2 separate regions of the Homo sapiens genome follow, and region 2 is linked to region 1. The links are contacts of gene promoters, found by promoter capture Hi-C in blood cells and fetal thymus (Javierre and others, 2016). All regions are on one chromosome and are shown on one strand. Each heading gives the region's core, a stretch centred on a gene start or on the middle of the fragment in contact. The rest is flanking DNA. Distances are from core to core; before and after follow the strand shown.

The links. The method cuts DNA at HindIII sites, captures the fragments that hold promoters and counts their contacts. A CHiCAGO score of 5 or more calls a contact.
Region 2: a contact is called between a fragment that was not itself captured here and the fragment with the promoter of ETV5-AS1 in region 1, in 3 of 17 cell types (M1 macrophages, M0 macrophages and megakaryocytes). The highest score is 8.2, in M1 macrophages.

Annotation. Positions count from the first base shown.
Region 1 is chr3:186,076,546-186,081,201 of GRCh38, reverse strand. ETV5-AS1 (ETV5 antisense RNA 1) reads right to left here and starts at 2,032. Exons shown (of 2, transcript NR_046594.1): 1 at 1,861-2,032; 2 at 255-642. ETV5 (ETS variant transcription factor 5) reads left to right here. Exons shown (of 13, transcript NM_004454.3): 6 at 27-156; 7 at 1,098-1,385. It overlaps LOC124909470 (a long non-coding RNA gene), which reads left to right and starts at 1,393. Exons shown (of 2, transcript XR_007096205.1): 1 at 1,393-2,170; 2 at 2,988-4,380. RefSeq lists a silencer at 3,440-3,635. The HindIII fragment of the contact is 3,249 bases long and covers 597-3,845 here.
Region 2 is chr3:186,226,514-186,231,169 of GRCh38, reverse strand. All of the region lies in intron 20 of DGKG (diacylglycerol kinase gamma), which reads left to right. Among named protein-coding and RNA genes, the nearest start is that of ETV5, 120 kb to the right of the region's middle. The HindIII fragment of the contact is 2,234 bases long and covers 1,307-3,540 here.

The DNA of each region.
Region 1 (4,656 bases), core at 783-3,282:
CCCTCTCATCCCTCTTCTGATTTCAGTGGTGCTTCATGCCCCACCTCCAACCAAGATCAAACGGGAGCTGCACAGCCCCTCCTCTGAGCTGTCGTCTTGTAGCCATGAGCAGGCTCTTGGTGCTAACTATGGAGAAAAGTGCCTCTACAACTATTGGTGAGTGGGCAAGAGGAGTCGAAGAAAGGCTGCCCAGAAAGGCTCTGGAAGTAGCCATCAAGCTGAATGTTCCTTCCCAGTGTTACTTACCCAGCAGACCCTGTGGTAAAACATATCCTTCTTTCATGGCAGTGTCATCCTCCGGGTGTAGTCCAGTCCCCTTGGGATCATTGTACTGCACACAAAAGAAAACCATTAAAAACCTTGTGGCTCTACAGAGCACTAAGTTCATAGGGTACCCAGTCCTTCTAGGGAAAGAGTCTCAATCCTGGGATACTTGATCTGTGGCTTTGAGGCAGGTAATATATACTTCTTCATGTCTATCATATGTTAATGTGAACTTTAAGCACCAGAGAAGTAATCTCCAAATCAGAATATATGAAAAAGTCTTGAAGCTTGTGCCCTTTACTTAAGAATATCCAGGCCCCAGGAATGAAGCTTTAATTTTAAATCATTCTTTGCTCTAGAAGATAAACATAGATTTGCCTGAAAGGGGGAGGAGAAGAGTTGTTAATTCAAATGATGTCACAGCACAAACAGACCTTCAACACATATTCTGACTAATTCCTGGGAACCCTGGAAATAGTTGGGAGAGGGGACCAGAGAACACCTGGCAAACATACATTCTCCCCTCACCCACCCACCCTACACAGGCATACACGGAGAATTCTTTTAGAAGGAGGGAAAAAGGAAACCGGAAGCAGAGGCTAAAATTATCCTTGAGAAAAATCACTAGAAGTGTTAAACAAGTCCCTGTGACGCAGTGTGTTTGTCACTTTTCAGAGGTACAAATATCCCCTCGGGGCTACGAGCGATTTAACTATGTTAATGCTGTTATTTCCTGGCAACAATGGGCTGCAAACTAGCTTTCTGCTGGACCTGGTAACCATGCTAATGGCTTCATTTCAGCTTAATGGTTCCTTCTCTTTTTCTGTTTACAGTGCCTATGATAGGAAGCCTCCCTCTGGGTTCAAGCCATTAACCCCTCCTACAACCCCCCTCTCACCCACCCATCAGAATCCCCTATTTCCCCCACCTCAGGCAACTCTGCCCACCTCAGGGCATGCCCCTGCAGCTGGCCCAGTTCAAGGTGTGGGCCCCGCCCCCGCCCCCCATTCGCTTCCAGAGCCTGGACCACAGCAGCAAACATTTGCGGTCCCCCGACCACCACATCAGCCCCTGCAGATGCCAAAGATGATGCCTGAAAACCAGTATCCATCAGAACAGAGGTGGGTGTTGATCTGGGCTTCTTCCTTAATTGTCTCCCTCACTCCTATCCTTTCTCACTGGGAGAGGGGAAGCAGTTTGTCTTATTTACCAGGTTCCTAAAAAGTTATCATTACATTGAGGCAGCTTGTGAGGCAAGACTAATGATAATACGAATATGACTGTTTATATACCACCCTGTTCCCAAGGTACTCCAGATGGTTGATGGACTACGACATCCTTATAAAGTAGGTAAGGGAGAGGTAACTGGTATTCTCCCGTCTCACAGAACTAGAGGAAGAATGACTTGCCAGGATAGTCTTGTCCCTCACTGAGGGCAGGTTCCTGACTCCTCATTGGATGCTGCCTACTATTAATAGAATTGAACTTCAGTTATTACCATTTCACTTACATATAAGGGACAATTGCTGATTTATACAAGGTAATATTACTTATCTGATTTTAACATGTTTTAACAGTAGGAGATTAGCTAAGGACCTTATTTGTACATCTGCTTTTGAAATAGAAATCTCCTGGTTACACTGCAGGTGGTTTTTACATTTCTACAGGCATTGAGGCATCAGGAGTAACTTGTCCAGAGTCATTCATTTGTCAAAAAAGTGTGTGAAGGGAACCTTCTCTGCACACTCCAAACCTGACCTCTTTATCTGTGGTATTCTAGAATCTCGGATGCTTGTGGCCTTCTTTTATAGAAGATGTGCTGGGGGCCTGTCTTTATTTCAAGTTTCTCTGGGATAGGGGGGTAGTTGTCAACAATATTACCAAAGGATGCAAGATGGTGGCCATGGTATTTCATATCTATCTATCTTGTGTTAGGTGGATCGGTGTGGGGGCCACAATGGGGCGGGAGTGGGAAGAATATATGAGTATACCTTTCCCAGGCCTGGTCCATTCCAGATGCCTACCAGTATTTACTTGGAGGTCATTTTATTTCTAGATGAAATGCAGGGGAAAAAATAAGGTCCCTTTGTCTGGTTCTGATCCCCTTCCCGTTTTGCTCTGAAAGTCACCATTAAGAACGGCAAAATATGGCTGGTTGCTGTTTATTCCTTGGTTAGGCCAAGGAACACGAACGCCTGTGTTACACAGGGCTCAAGGGGTGAGCACTGACGGGGTTGTGGGGGGCTGGCTCTGGAGTGGGCCTCTATTGCCACCGGGGACTCATCTGGAGGACACAGCTGCCGCTGAGCTTTTGGCAATTGTTACCTTGTACTAACAACCTGTACTTGTGCAGAAGAATTTGGTTACTTGGTTTTTTATGTAAAAATTGTAGACTTTTTTTTTTAAGTTGGCAACTAATTCAAATTAAAAACAACACCTCTGCAGACTAAACAAAACTTCTCTGGGCAAAATCACCCTGCAGGCCTGCCAATTTGTGAACTCTGGCCTAGATATCATTTTTATTTCAATGGTTTTTTGGTGTTTTTAAACAGCATCTTGCTGATTTTCTGCAAGGGTTATGGGGAAATTGGGGAGGAAGTGTGGGGTCGAGTATATATTCAGTATTTGAAACTCTTAGCAAACTTCTATTTGTTATACCATGAACTGTAAAAGAAAATTCCTTTATCTAATATTTCCCCCTCAATCCTTGTTTTTTATCCAAGGGGCTTATGTAACATACTGTATTAACAGTTAACTGAGTTGGGAGACAAATATCCTAGTTCTCCTGGAGAATTGGGAGATGGGTAGCCCCAGTCTCAGCTGTGAAATAAGCCTGTCTCCAGTCCACCCAGCCCCCTGAGAAGGAAGGAGTTTTGGATTCCTGGGATTGATGAGTTATTTGCCCGTGGGTGTTGAAAGGAAGAGAGGAGGGAACCAGAATGCAGGTATTTCTTTTCTTGGGTGATTCCTCCTTGAAGTCTGCCTGTGCATTTTGGACTTACTTCTTGTTATACTCTGCCTTTGAGACTGATGGGTCTAAAATTCAAAGCTCTCACACACACACTGGGGTGATACAGAGATCCTTGAGGTAATTGAGGTGAAGGGGGAGGAATTCTGTAGGTGACCAAATCGATTACAAACAACACTGGGCACTTGGATTTCCACTCAAGAGTGCTGTCCTCTCAAAGTTGAAAGTGCACAGGAGTCCCCATGGGAGTGTGGAGCGGGGATTTTCAATGCAGAGTCCTTGTTAACATTCAGAGATAGAGTGTGTGGGCCTGGGGCGGGGCCTGGATATAGTCTTGTCACACTTTGAGAAATTGTGATCCAGCTCTCTCTACCCTCATCCTTATTCCACCCTACCTTTATTTAAAGCATGTATTACCAAATTCTATTCCTACTGCCTTTGTCTATTAATATGGTCATCCACGTGATATCTATGTGACATAAAACGCATCAAAAACGTGACAGTGATTTTTCTTCTAGATACTGGATAGTACACAGAAAATGAGACAGACCAAAATCCCTGGTTTGATATTTGTAAAAGTAATAGAAATTACAGTCATGGATAATATCAAGCTTCATAATCACATATTTAATAACTTTTATGCCTGCCCAAAAGTGGGGCAGATTACTTTTATTGGTGACTATAGGTTGTCTCTTGGCTTAGAACTTTTTATTAAGATTAGAGGGACTATTACTTCAAAACGAAATCCCTAATACAAATATATGGTATTTTGCATGATAGAAGTAAAGAGAGTCTCATTTGAAACTTTTAACCGCCCTGTGACATAGGCAGAGTGAAAAAACCCATTTTATAGGTTAGAAATCAAGCCTCAGCACAGTTAAAGGACTTTCTAAAGCTCACATAGCCAAATACAGGGTCCTACATTCAGCAACCAAAAACTTCCATGACGTGTAATTACGCCATTTGTTTCAGTTATGATTTTATTTGGGCTGCTAACATCCACTAATGTCTACTATAAAAACTGAGTAATTGACCTTGATAAATTTGTTTTGACCTTGAACATTATCTGTTTTTTTATTATACTTTTAAGTTCTATCTATCTCTTCAACTACAAAATCTTAATAAATTCCTACATCATTTAATCCAAACCCATGTGCTTAACATGTGTCTTTTTTGTTTTGCTGGGTGTGCCGTATCTGTTCAGTTGAATAGAGTAAGCTCTTTGAGGATAAAAACCTGTGATTTAGACTCCTTTCTTTAGGCCACATTTAGCCTTGTACCTTATTTGTCCTCAGTATATGTTTATTGATAGTGATAAAAGTTTGCTAAAATTATACCGTAAATAGCTAAAATGTAATCTAGTCAAAAGTACACCCTTGCCACACATGGCGGCACACACCTGTAGTCCCAGTTACTTGAGAGGC
Region 2 (4,656 bases), core at 1,174-3,673, 150 kb before region 1:
AGAACGTACTGGGAATGGGCCTCAAGTGTGTGAAGGATTCACAACAGGAAATAGTGACTGCACCTCCTTACTCTTCATCTCAGTTCAGGAAAGAATGAGAGAGGGAAAAAATGTGCTCTAAAAGTAAAGAATTCTCTTTTGGATGGGAGCAGGAATCTTCTGGCCTGGAGACATATTAAAGACTGAAATGAGTTATTGAGAGTAGTTTTGGAATCTCTTGCAAAGGCTTCCAAAAACAGAGAGTTGCATTCATCCAGGATGATAAACACACCACCTTCTCTGAGCCCAGCAGTGTACTCATTGCACCCACCAGGTCCCCACCCAGATGGGAGCTTTCTGCCTCCCACTCCACAACTGACCAAGCTGCACAGTTTAATTGCACAATTTTATTTACTTGTGAGACCGCTTGCCTCCTGTGCTCCTCACTTCCCAGTTGGTCCCCAAGATGTTCCATCCTCAGGATTTCCTCAGCCACCCTCTGGCCCATCTCGATGCCCTTCCCATTCAGGCCCACCCTGCCTGGAGCTGCCCATTAGTCTCCCTGGGACACGTTTGTGGTCCTGTTGCTGCTGCACAAGCACCTACTTCCACCACCCCCCTCCCACGTTACATCCCATGCTTGCATTTAGCGCCCTTTATAACATTCTCCTCCTCAAACACCAGCCTCACCTTCTTGCTTGCTTGCTCTGTTACTCTCACCTTCCCCACACAGCTGCTCTCATTCCCTCAATCCCTCAACCTAGATGACATCTCCTCTTGTGACCTAGTCATCACTTGTTTCAAAATGCAGCACAGAATATTCTGAACGAACCTACTTAACCAACCCATTTGGTACTCCACTTTCTCTTACACTCCATCTCCAATGTTTTGTTGTTGTTGTTGTTTTGTTTGTTTGTTTGTTTGTTTGTTTTTGAGACGGAGTCTCGCTCTGTTGCCCAGGCTGGAGTGCAGTGGCGTGATCTCGGCTCACTGCAGCCTCCACCTCCTGGGTTCAAGCAATGCTCCTGCCTCAGCCTCCCAAGTAGCTGGGACTACAGGCGCCCGCCACCACACCCGGCTAATTTTTTTATTTTTAGTAGAGACGGGATTTCACCATGTTGGCCAGGATGGTCTTGATCTCCTGACCTCGTGATCCGCCCGCCTCGGCCTCCCAAAGTGCTGAGATTACAGGCGTGAGCCACCGCGCCCAGCCCATCTCCAGTGTTTTTGACACATTCTGTCCCACTTTGCTGCACCCTCTTTGTCTTCTATAATTCATTGTTTGGGATGCTAAACTACTGTTATGTCTCCAACTTGTTCATAAGCTTTCTCACTCGGAGAGGAGTCTGACTCTCTTCAGGATCCACTGAACTAAATCCAGAAGGGTGATGCTAAGCATGTTTCTTCATTCAGCCAAAATGAGTTGAGCATCTATTTGTGTTAGCATCATGCTAGGTCTGAGAGGAACGATGGAGCACCACAGCCCCTGCTTTTCAGGAGTTCGTGGGTATAACTGGGAAGATGAGCACATACAGAAGTTAATACCAACTATATCAGTGTCCTGGGCTGCCATAACAAAGCACCACAGCTGGGTGGTTTAGAACAGCAGAAATGTATTCGCTCGTAGCTCTAAAAGCTGCATGTCTGGCCTGGCGCAGTGGCTCATGCCTGTAATCCCAGCACTTTGGGAGGCAGAGGCAGGCGGATCACTTGAGGTCAGGTGTTCAAGACCAGCCTGGCCAACATGGTGAAACCCCGTCTCTACTAAAAACACAAAAATTAGCCGGGCATGGTGGCGGGTGGGCACCTGTAATCCCAGCTACTTGGGAGGCTGAGGCATGCGAATCACTTGAACCCGGGAGGCGGAGGTTGCAGTGAGCCGAGATCATGCCACTGCACTCCAGCCTGGGTGACAGAATGAGACTCCATCTAAAAAAAAAAAAAAGCTACAAGTCTGAAGGATGTCAGCAGGGTTGATTCCTTCCCCAGGCTCTGAGAGAGAATGATTTTCTGTGCCTCTCTCCTTGCTTCTAGAGGTTGCCGCCAGTCTGACATCCTTAGCTTGTAGATGTATCAGTCACGCAAATCTTTGCCTCCATCATCACACGGCCTTCTCCCTCTGTATCTGTGTCTCTGTTCAAATCTCCTTCTTCTTATAAGGACGTCAGTCACTGGATTGGACCCACCCTAACCCGGTATAACCTCATTTTAACTTGATGACATCTGCGAAGACCCTATTTCCAAATAAGGTCACATTCACAGGTATAGAGAGTGAGGACTTTAGCATATCATTTTTGGGGGGGACACAATTCAGCCCACAGCATCAGTCTTCCCCCAGACCTTCACACAAGAAGGAAATACAATGTAATATGGTAGCTTTGTTTTCACGAAGGGACGTGAACAATGAGGGTGTTGTGAGAGACTAGGATGAAACTTCAGGAGGAAGGTAACATTTGCATGAGCGCTGGAGACAGAAATGGAAATTCGCCAAGGAGAGAAGCAACCGGGGAAATGCTAGGAGGAGGGAAGCAGTATGGGAGAAGGGCTGAAGTGTGAGAGGACACTGGACATGAGCGGAGAGGCCGGAGGTTCCCGGGTGGAGTGAAAAGGCGGGGGGAGCAGTTGCAGCAGATCTCGCTGGTCTGCACCAGAGTTTGCATCTTATCCTAGGAGTGGGTGAGTGGACAGTGAGGGTATCCATCAGTAAGTGCTTTTTGAACAGATTAATGAAGGAATGGCTTACCTTTCAAAGTATTTGTGGAGCAAAAATTTCAGGGCTCCTAGAAACACTGGGACTTTAAAATACTGAACCTTGCTGAAGTGTTAGAATAGTACAGACAGAGTGTTAGTCAGAAAGACCCAGAAAAGAGGCAATCCCCAGGGGGAGAGAGAAGGAAGAGGGGCATCAGGAGAGAGGAGAAGGAGCCAACTCTGCTGCCCTGGAGGAGTCAGTACACATCAGGGCTGGAAAAACTATGGAAACCAACGACAGAGCTTTCTTATAAACCTTGAGCTTTAAAGCATGCTATTTGGTTGTGAAGTAGAAATCCATATTGAAAAAAAGAATCCGCATGTCATTCTCTCTTCCTCACCACCACAATTTCAGATGCCTTCAGGGAGAGGGCAACTTAGGTGGCTTTTAAAGTTAGTTTAACATGTCTCTTTGTTTGTTTTTAGCTCCAGAAAAAATAATGTCAGAGTTTGTTGGCCTTCTATTGTACTTTACTAATTAAAACTTCAGAAAATTGTTGCCCTTTTGCATAAGAGTATTTTTGGAAAATTATTGCCCTTTTGCATAAGGGTATTTTGGTGATACAACAGAGTCTGTATCTGTATTTACGGCTGATGTGATTAGCATATTCAGTCGCCCATATTTTCTTTAAACTTTTCATAATTGCATGCGTTTTATTATGAAGAAATTGAAAAACAAGGTGAAAAGGTAATAGATGTTCTCAAAAAAGATTCAAGTGATTAATTTTAACTCCCCACTTAAATCAACATTTACTAAAAAACGTTGTAATGCACTTATTATTGGGCCAAAGGAAATTTCAAAAGCAAGCTTTCACTGTACTTATCAGGAAACGCAGTAACTCTCTTCTGTGAAATAATTTACTTATTTCACAGTAAATTATTTCACAGAAACCCTGAACAAATGGCTTTACAACTCTGCTATGCCAGGTCGTGGTCACCCTCATGTGAAATACAGACACAAATTCCTGAGTTTCATTGCATTCAGCATCAAAAGAACTGAGTTTCAGCCCTTACTCTGCCTCTTACTTACTGTGTGCCATTGGGAAAGTTACTCACTTCTCTGATTCCTAATGTTCTGATGTGTAAAATGGAAATTACAACTGCCTGACAAGGTGCCTGTGAGAATTAGAGTAGATAAATCAATGGATTTGAAGTTTATCAGGTATTGGTATGATGCTGTATTGATTACTACAGGGATTTGTAAGGAGAACATGCAGCAGTATATGAGAATCCATTGTAGAATCTCTAATTTAAAGGCATGCTGTCATGATTCCTGTCTGTAATAGTAACTTATAGACTCCTAGCTTTGGATGGGACTTTAGATTTCAACCCCCTTCTCAGTGTAAGCATCCCCTCTATAAACGCTCCTCCAAAGGGGGTCATCAAATCTCTACTTTGAAGACTGTAGATCTCTATTATGAAGATTGTAGGAGTGTTTAAATTTGAAGGGGTTAGGAGGTGCTTACCACTTCATATTTTACTAAGAAGGCATTTTCCCAATCTTCTAATGCTCTTCAATGAAAGAGGGGCTCTTCTCACTTCAAGAATGTACTTATACCCTCAAATTACTAACACAGCAGGGAATTACGTAATTGCTGAATATTCATGTTTATTGAACCTACACTTAGATTGAAATTCTTCACTCTCTAGTAACAAGATGTTTTCTATTCTGTTAAATGGAGTGTCCCTTTAATCCTGAAAGTGGGCCTTTTTGGAGAGCATTCCAAACTGCCAATCAAGCCAAGTACCCTACCTTGCCTTTGAACTCAATAAGCTGAAAGCGGGTCTGTAATCTCCAGTTTTGGGTTACCACAGAGTAAGAGGGAGTGAGAAAGTCCTGGGTAAATGAAAACTGCAAACTGTTGATCTCAGTGAAACTTTTATTGGAGCTCTCAACAGAGTGTTGTAATTAGTCAGGTTCCCCCT